2 separate regions of the Homo sapiens genome follow, and region 1 is linked to region 2. Evidence: promoter capture Hi-C in 16 types of primary human blood cells and fetal thymus (Javierre and others, 2016). All regions are on one chromosome and are shown on one strand. Each heading gives the region's core, a stretch centred on a gene start or on the middle of the fragment in contact. The rest is flanking DNA. Distances are from core to core; before and after follow the strand shown. Region 1 overlaps RPTOR (regulatory associated protein of MTOR complex 1). Region 2 holds the start of ENDOV (endonuclease V).

Evidence for each region. Contacts are between HindIII fragments. The CHiCAGO score rates a contact against its expected background, and 5 or more counts as called.
Region 1: a contact is called between a fragment that was not itself captured here and the fragment with the promoter of ENDOV in region 2, in 12 of 17 cell types (endothelial precursors, M2 macrophages, activated CD4 T cells and 9 more). The highest score is 12.8, in endothelial precursors.

The regions. Positions count from the first base shown.
Region 1 is chr17:80,925,984-80,930,800 of GRCh38, forward strand. The region is part of intron 24 of RPTOR (regulatory associated protein of MTOR complex 1); the gene reads left to right. Among named protein-coding and RNA genes, the nearest start is that of CHMP6, 63 kb to the right of the region's middle. The HindIII fragment of the contact is 2,233 bases long and covers 1,269-3,501 here.
Region 2 is chr17:80,413,024-80,417,582 of GRCh38, forward strand. It overlaps ENDOV (endonuclease V), which reads left to right and starts at 2,144. Exons shown (of 10, transcript NM_173627.5): 1 at 2,144-2,227; 2 at 2,627-2,798. The coding sequence starts at 2,172. RNF213-AS1 (RNF213 antisense RNA 1) reads right to left here and starts at 2,145. Exons shown (of 2, transcript NR_029376.1): 1 at 1,906-2,145. RefSeq lists an enhancer at 2,577-2,666. The HindIII fragment of the contact is 3,926 bases long and covers 1,588-4,559 here.

The DNA.
Region 1 (4,817 bases), core at 1,135-3,634, 510 kb after region 2:
TCGAGGAATGGGGCGGGAGCTGCTTTGTCAGCACAGTCCCAGTGCTCATCTCTCTGCCAGGGCCCAGCAGGGACTCGTGGAGATTTTCTATAAATCTAAAGTGCATTCTGAGCAAACCTGCCTCTTCCCTCATATATAATTGAAAGCTGAAACTCTCAGCTTATTCTCGATTGTATATCAAGCTTGCGTCTTAGTCATCTCTGTGAATGGTATTTGGACCCCATGACAGCTCAGTCCCTGTGGTCCTGTCTTCATAGTGAATGCTGATTTCTGTTCATAAAAACAGAACCATCAGGCAGCCCCTGAGGCAGGCAAGCCATGAAGCTTGAACTACGGAGCCCCTTTACTGCAAAGAGAGAGGAGTTCGCCTCCCTCTTCTCACATGAACCTGGGTGGACAGTGGCCTGGCTGTTCTAGAAAGCGTCTTGCCGGGAAGCATCAAACGCCTTAAATAGCCGTTCCCTTTGACCCAGTCATGAATCTGCTAAAATACTGTCTTGAGAAAATAATCAGAGATGTAGATGACTTCCGTGTTGTTTCTAAGAACGAAAATTGAGATTCACTTAAATGTCCACAGAGGGTGAATAGTTAAAAAGTTATGAAATATTTGATGAGATATTATTGGAGCTACTGAAAAGTTAAACATTAAAAATAGTGTCCTAAGGAAGCGCTCATGACAACATTCCTTAAAAAGAAAAAATGCAAAATGCAGACCAAGAAGCCAGATTTACAGAACAATCACAGCCGTGCTTCTCATACAGACACAGATGTGCATACGACGGAGACCAGCAGAGCCCGCTCCTAACTAGAGATTCGCAAATGGCGCCACCCACGACTGCACTGAATTGGGCTTCTTTTGTGCCTCTTCTGCAGTTTCTACACTAAGCACGAAGCACCTTTAGAGTCGGGGGAAAAGAATCAAAGAAACAAACCCCAGGAGATCATTGAGGCTGGTGGATTCAGTCCTAGTCAGAAGCCCCTCACCAGGCCCACCTGCTGGGCTCACCGCTGCTTACCTGCGGGTGGCATGAGGGTGGCGGCCCCTGCAGACAGAGGGAAGTGCCCCTTCCCATCACTAGGAGGCTTCTGGTTAGGAAAGGAAAGCATACACAAATCCTGGAATTGGATGCAGGAAGCAGGAGCCACCCAAACTCTGAGTGAGCCAGAGCTGGGAGGTGGCTGGACACTGTGCCAGGGGTGCCAGGCCGTCCTCTAGAACTGCGGCCCAGTCTGTTGAAAAGTCAATGGAATTTAGTCTAATGTTAACAAGCTTGGTGTCCTTGATGCGGTCTCGTGCTTAAGGCAGACAAGGTCAGGCGACTAAGAAACCCACATGGTCTGGTCTTCGCTCTTGCTGGGATGGCAGTGGCTGTACATGTTGGTAATTTCTTGGTGTGATAACGAGAGGCTTTTCTTGAAGTCCTTGAAAAATGCCTATTCTCAGTCATCTATCCTATGATGAAAGAGGAATGGCATAGATAATCCAAAACTCATTGCTCTTAAACTTAAAAATGAATTTGACTTTTCCCCAAAGGATTTGCTTTCCTTTCCTAAGCATTTTTAAGTACACAGCAGCTGATTGCAGGAGGAAGTTCCCCAGAGGCATGTGGAAGGCCGTGTGTGTGTCTGTCTGTCTGTCTGTCTGTCTGTCTCTATGTGTGTGTGTGTATCCCTGTGTCTGTCTGTGTGATGTGTGTGTGTATCTCTGTATGTGTGTATGTGTATCTCGTGTGTGTGTCTGTGTGTTTCTGTGTGTCTGTGTGTGTGTGTCTATTTGTTCCGGTGTGTGCAAGCCCCAAGCCAGCGTCTCCTCTCCCTTTCTTCAGATTAGCAGCCCCTCCTCCGCCTGCCCTCATCTCCTCCATTTGCACATCTGAGAATTCCCGCCCGCACGGAGGAGCTGGAGGGTGTCAGCCTTGTGGTCTGGCCCTGCCAGCAGGTCCTGCTGTGTGGACACTGCAGAGGAGATTAGTCCAAGGGGATCCATGTAGGAGCTGCCATCACACAGGAGGTTGATCAGGAAACGGTTGCTGAATGAGTAAATGATTGTCTTCCTCTGCCCCTGCCAAGTATTTGAAAACAAATGCTCACTTGGTTGTCGTTGAAACAACAGGCTCTGGGTGTCATGATGGAAAAGAGCGCCGTGTTGTGGTCGGCGTCGTCTGTAACTCCTGATAGCAACTGCAGTCTTAGGAGTGTCTTTAACATTAGAGACCTTTTCCAAACTTCAGAAGAGGAAGCAGGACGTGTTTTCTCTTGTTTAAAAAAAAAATTGTTTTCCTACTTTTTCTAGGTGGTATTCATAAAGGTATTCTTTTACTGATTTAATTCATCATCTAATGACATTTGTGTAACGAGCTGCATTAGGAACTTCTTGTTATTAGCCTGCTTCACATGTAAACTAAAAATAGCTCTAAGGCTAGGATTGAACCTAAAAAAGAACAGAAGAACTGCAAACCCGAAACTGCTTCAAGGTATATAAGAAACTAAAACAGTTACCAGGTCACAAAATAATGACCAGTTTACACTGACATGCAACTAGCGATTAGCAGGATGAGCATCCAAGGACACCGTGGTAAGGACAGCGTCTGCTAACGTTTTTATTAGTTCACCGTCAGATTTCGTACAGGTCCGTATGACTAGAAAGAGCCGTGTTCTGTCTGCGGCTCACCTTTGATTGGTGAAGCAACCTCCTTTCTTCCCATGTTGGTTTACGGAGCTCGTGTCTACATTAGAAACCACAAAAGAATATTAAAAATGGTCTGCCGTGTGCTTAAGAAAGAAAAAGATGTATTGAATTGTGTTCTGATTACAAAAGTCATACAACTTTTTTCTTCTCTCAGTTGGAAGGTTTCAAAAATTGATTCTATCCAGAGAATCAATCCCTACAAGGCTGTAGGGGCATGTGAACTCTCAGACACTGTTGGTGGGTGGGTCCAGTACTCCCTTTGCTTAGGGCAATTAAGCAGTAACTGTCAGGATTAGAAAAGGGTATACCTGCAAAGCCAGCAATCCTGCTAGGAGGCATATATTCTTAAAAACCACTAATATACATGTCCATGAAAGGGTTCTGCCCGGAGATGTTCATGATAACATGATTTGTAATGGGAAAAAGTTGAAAAGAATCACTTAGTAGGAGAGTTAATTTAAAATGATGGATCCATGGGTTAGAATACTATACAACCATTAAAATTCTTTAAGTTGTATCTTTCTATGAGGACTTGGTTGGATGTCCTTGATCCAAAAGGTAAAATAATCAAATTGTACAAAATGCTTGCACGAGCTCTGTGCTTCTGTAGACTGGAACAAGCACGGGAGGAGGCTTGGCCAGTTACACAGCAGGCTGGCCACACAGTGACTTCTAGAAGGTGGAGTTGGAGCCAGGCAAGGGGACTGTTCTTTTTTTCATCATTTACTTCTGGATGATTTGAATTTTTTAGAAAGAACAGTTATTAGTTTTGCAATTTAAAACAGACTAAAATACCATTTTTAATTATAAAAAGCTTTAAGAGTCGATACGCTGTTGGGAGGCATCACACGCAGAACCCAGTTTATTTCACACAGCCCTTAAAGCTACAGTGGGGATTTCCGTTTGGCGGCTCCGCAGAGCATGGGGATCTTGTTTTGCCCTGAGAGCATCTGCTCCTCTAGGGTGGATGCGGAAGCTGCACTGCCCGTCATCAGATCTGCGGCTGTGCAGCTGGGGTTTCAGTGCACCATTAGAAACTCAGGCAGTGAAGGAGCGACTTGAGATGGCCATAGTCCCCACGCAGGGTTCCCTCCCAGCACTGGGGTTGCCCTGCCTGCATGGCTTCCGGTCCCGCTTTTCTCACTATGCAGTGAACATTGAGCATCCTGTCATAGATTCTCCCACAAAAATGACTTTTTCTGTTTTGTTTTGTTTTTCTCCTCTGAGAATGACACTCTGTGTGACATTCTTTATATAAACCTGCAGCAGGCAGAGCCTGAGAAGTCCCCTCGTGCCACCCTCAGCTCAGTTCATCCTTGGCTCATCCTCGGCTCATCCTCAGCTCATCCCTGGCTCATCCCCAGCTCATCCTCAGTTCAGTTCAGCTCATCCTCATCCCCAGCTCATCCCCAGCGCATCCTCAACTCATCCCCAGCTCATCCTCAACTCATCCCCAGCTGCTCCTCAGCTCATCCCCAGCTCAGCTCATCCCCAGCTCATGCCCAGCTCATCCCCAGCTCATGCCCAGCTCATCCCCAGCTCATCCTCAGCTCATCCCCAGCTCATCCTCAGCTCAGCTCATCCCCAGCTCATCCTCAGCTCATCCCCTGCTCATCCTTAGCTCATCTTCAGCTCATCCCCAGCTCAGCTCAGCTCATCCTCAGCTCATCCTCAGCTCATCCCCAGCTCATCCTCAGCTCATCCCCAGCTCAGCTCAGCTCATTCTCAGCTCATCCCCAGCTCATCCTCAGCTCATCCTCATCCCCAGCTCATCCTCAGCTCATCCCCAGCTCATCCCCAGCTCATCCCCAGCTCATCCCCAGCTCATCCTCAGCTCATCTTCAGCTTATCCACTTCAGTCTGCTGTGGGCTTCACCCGCCTCAGGAGGACAGCTGGCTCCACCCCAGCTGCAGCTTCTAAAATGGGTGCTTCCTGTTCTTTCCTGGAAAGTTCAGAAGGAAAGCAAATGGATAGGTCGATTCCCCTCCAGGAAGACCAGAATAGAATAAGTCGTTGGTTTTGGATGGAAGCTGCGTGAAGAACACACTTGGTGGGTGGAAGTGGGAGACGTAGCTTCTCTGACTTTGTTTCCACTCAGCCACCACCAGCTGGACTCTGGTGCTCGCA
Region 2 (4,559 bases), core at 894-3,393:
GACAACTCCCACTACTGAGTGAGATTCTCAGAGAGGGAGAATAAGGGAGACCACCCCTCATATTGTTTTACGCCCAATTTCTGCCTCCAAAGAGAGAAGTAAAAACTAAAAGGCAGAAATGAAATCCACAAGCAGACAGCCTGCACCACACCCTGGGCCTGGTAGTTAAAGATCGACGCCTGACCTAATCAGTGATGCTATCTATAGATTACAGACGTTATATAGAAAAGCACCGTGAAAATCCCTGTCCTGTTCTGTTCCGTTCTAATTACGGGTGCATGCAGCCCCCAGTCACGTACCCCCTGCTTGCTCAATCAATCACGACCCTCTCACGCAGACCCCTGAAGAGTTGTGAGCCCTTAAAAGGGACAGGAATTGCTCACTCGGGGAGCTCGGTTGTTGGAGACGTGAGTCTTGCCGAAGCTCCCAGCTGAATAAAGCCCTTCTTTAACTCGGTGTCTGAGGGGTTTTGTCTGCGGCTTGTCCTGCTACACTCTGGTGGGAAAGACACCGCAGCAGGGGAGCAGGGTGCGCAGGGTGCAGTGGGTGACGCTCATTCGCTGAAAACTGACCCTGCTTTCAAAGCCTTGTCAGTTCCCAAAGCTGTATGAAGCCTTTCCTGAGCCTCAACCTCTAGAGTCTAATTTCATCCTCTGTATTTTCCCCTTTGTTAGTCCAAACTGCGTCATTTTGTAAGCCCCTTTCCATTTTGTAGACCTTGGTCAAAGTGAAACATTCCACGGGGGTTCGAGCCATGAGAAACAGCCTGCCTCTTAACATATTCTGCTGGGACAAAGCGCCAGGAACACCACATTCTGCCGGAACCACCTCATCCTGGGAACACGTTAACATCTTCCCGGACAGCAAGCCATACTGCCTAGATCCCTCCTGCCCAGGCCTATGAGTACCCCAGCCTGTAATCGCTGGTGGGCTCTGGCATTAAGCTGGCCCCCGACAGGTGTTTGCAATACACCTGTGTTGCTGTAGAGCCGCCCGCGCGCCGGCAATCTCACTGTGCGTCATTCTTTAACCTTCACCTTCCCTTCAAAACCTAACACCCTTGACGTTTATATTCAGGCTATTATATATACATACACACATACACCCTTCTGAATCCTCCCAGGAGAATATAAAACCATGGGTTAAACTGCTACACTTCAGCTTCAGTGGCTGCCTTTCAGTGCTTCAAATACACCAACCTCTTTCCCACCCCGGGACCTGCACGAGAAAGCTGCTCCACTCACCCGCCGTGCTCTTTCACTCACCCTTCAGGTGTCTTCAATATCGCCTCTCAGGCCTTTCCCAACCACCGGTTTAAAGTCGGCTCCCCACAAATAAATACATATTCTCCCTCACAGTACTTCGCACAACACCTGGCACAGCGAGAGCACTGAACCAACACTCATTCAATGAGGAACACGAGGTAAGAACCAAGACCCCCCAAGGTCGCCGTACTTTGTCTGGTAGGAGAAGCTTTCTGCCCAGCAAGGTCCGACCCAGATGAAACCCCGTCCAAGTCTGCAGCACCCCCGTGAGTCCAGCCCGCTAAACTGTGAAGAATTTAAATACACGACACCTGCCCTCAAAAGCTTGAGGGCACCCCTGAGCTGCCATCGAGGTGGGGGCGTCAACGACAGGCGCTCAGTAAGTGCTCCTGAGGCAACTGCCGGGCTGTCCTGGACCTGGTGAATCCTTTCGGGGTTCAGCAAAGGCGGACGCTGACCGGGCCAAGGAGTGGGACCTGCAGTGCTGGACCACCCTTTTCCAAGCGCAGAAGTGCCGTGCCCGCCGGCTCTCAACAGGGCAAGAGGCCCCTCTCGCCGTGCAGAGCGCAGCGCTTGCGGCGGGGACAGCAGAGGCGGGACGGGCGTCACGGAGTTCCCGGGTCCTCGCGCGGTCACTTACCTGGCCTCAGCTATCCGCTGAAAAAGGGGCGGACGGCCTCCCGGGATCCGAGCCGATATCGCGCGCGGCGCCGCGGGGCAACCTGAAGCCGTGTGCGTGCGTGTGCGTTCACGCAGGGGCTCACCCAGCGGCCACGGGCTTCTGAAGACCCGGGTGGGAAGTGCGGCCCGGGAAAGCGCAAGCGTCTCCATGGCAACGAGGGCGGACGGCGTCAGAGCGAGTCGCTTCCGGAAGTGACGTGCGGAAGGGGTGCCCGGGACGAAGCCATGGCCCTGGAGGCGGCGGGAGGGCCGCCGGAGGAAACGCTGTCACTGTGGAAACGGTAATGCTGTCAGGCGACGCGCAGGAGGCGGGGGCCGAGGCCGGGCGGCCCTTCGCGGACCCTCCGAGCTCATAGTCTTCAGGCTGTGGAATCGGAGCTGCCACCGCCCGAGACTCCAAAGCAAAGCCCAGTTTCCGGCGCGGAAGCGGAGGGATCTCAGGAATTGTAGTCCGCGGGGTGGGCGCGGTTCTCGCTTCCGGCCAGTTTGTCTGGCCTGCGCTTGCGCGGGTCTCCGCCGCCTGGGCTCCTAGGGACTGTGGCCTCGGCGGTATGTCCCTTGCTTTCCCTTGAAGCGGGAGAAGACCCGGCAGAGGCGCTCTGTCCGCTGCAGCCGCGCGGGTGGAGGAGGCAGAGTCTGAGGTGTGACCCCGACCAAGTTTGACGCTTCTGTCCTCCTAGGGAGCAAGCTCGGCTGAAGGCCCACGTCGTAGACCGGGACACCGAGGCGTGGCAGCGAGACCCCGCCTTCTCGGGTCTGCAGAGGGTCGGGGGCGTTGACGTGTCCTTCGTGAAAGGGGACAGTGTCCGCGCTTGTGCTTCCCTGGTGGTGCTCAGCTTCCCTGAGCTCGAGGTAACCTGGGAGGACGCCGAGCTCGAGGCGGGCCCCTCGGTGGGCTCGGGCGTGCGGTCTCCGGGACAGGGAGCAGTGCAAGCGTAGAACCCGGCTTCTCGTTTTGTAGGATGTCATTAATAGTCTGGGGAGTTGGCCGGGCGCGGTGGCTCACGCCTGCAATCCCAGCACTTTGGGAGGCTGAGGCGGGGGAATCACCTGAGGTCGGGAGTTCGAGACCAGCCTGACCAACATGGAGAAACCCGGTCTCTACTAAAAATACAAAATTAGACGGGTGTGGTGGCATATACCTGTAATCCCAGCTACTCGGAAGGCTGAGGCGGGAGAATCGCTTGAACCCGGGAGGCGGAGGTTGCGGTGAGCCAACATCACGCCATTGCACTCCAGCCTCGGCAACAAGAGCGAAACTCCATCTCAAAAAAAAAAAAAAAAAAAAAAAGTCTGGGGAGTCTTGGAAGGGAAAAAAAGGCAAAAATTAAGGGAATTCTGTGACTATTAAGAATCAGCTCATGAGCTTTATCTTCAAGTCTGATTGTTATCTTGGGTTCTTCATCTCAGTGACCTGTCCACCACGCTCCCAGTTGCCCAAGCTGGAGATCTGCATCCTCCTGGGCCCCTCCGTTCCTCTCGCGTCCAGTTGCACACTAGCTCGCTTTTATTCTGCCTCTTAAATGTCGCTGGAATCTGTCCCCTTGTCTGTTTCCCCTCTGCTCCTTCCCTGGCTGTGCCACCATCACTCCTGTGGGTTCCTGAGCAGCATTTTCATGGGTGCCCTGGCTCAAATGTTCCTCCTCAGTGGTTTCTTTTCCATACTGCCAGCAGACCAATTTTCCTAAAAAGCAAGTATTTTCCTCAAAAGCAACAAGTCCCCTCCCTCCCTCCCTCCCTCCCTTCCTTCCTTCCTTCCTTCCTCCCTTCCTTCCTCTCTCTGTCTCTCTTTCCTTCCTTTCCCCTTCCCCCACTCTGTGCCCAGGCTGAAGTGCAGTGGCATAATCTTGGCTCACTGTCAAGATCTGATCTCAACCTCCTGGACTCAAGTGATCCTCCCACCTTAGCCTGAGTAGCTAGGACCACAGGTGTGAGCCACTACACCCGGCTTATTTTTTTATTTTTTGTAGAGACAGGATCTCACTATGTTGCCCAGGGTGGTCTCCAGCTCCTGGGCTCAAGGGATCCTCCTACCTTGGCCTCCCCAAGTGCTGAGATTACAGGTGGGAACCACCACACCCAGCCCACAAGTCCTCTTAGAACATTGAAGTGCCCTTCTCATGACCTCATGGTGAATAAAGTTCACTCTGGTTGGCATGGCTTCAAGGCCCGTCATGACCTGTCCCCTGCGTAATTTAATATGACGCTGGAGGCTCAGCCCTCACCACTATTCTCAGTTCTTCCCACCTCCTACAGCCCACTGTGAGTCCCTCACGTGTTTGCTACGCTGTATTTGGCGGCCTGACCTTTGCAGTAATGTTTCTTCTGGAAGGGTTTCCATCTGGCTAACTACTACTCATCTCTTTGGGCTCAGTTTAGACATGACGTCCTCCACTAAGCTCCCTCTCATCCCACAAGACGAGGACTTGTCCCTCAGCACCATGTCTTAGTCCGTTTGGGCTGCTGTAATAGAATACCTTAGACTGGGTGGCCTACCCACAGCAGGAATTTATTTCTCACAGTTCTGGAGGCTGGAGGCTCAAGATCAGGGTGCCAGCGCAATCAGGTTGTGGTGACGGCGCTCTTTCAGGTTGCACAGGGCCAGCTTCTTAA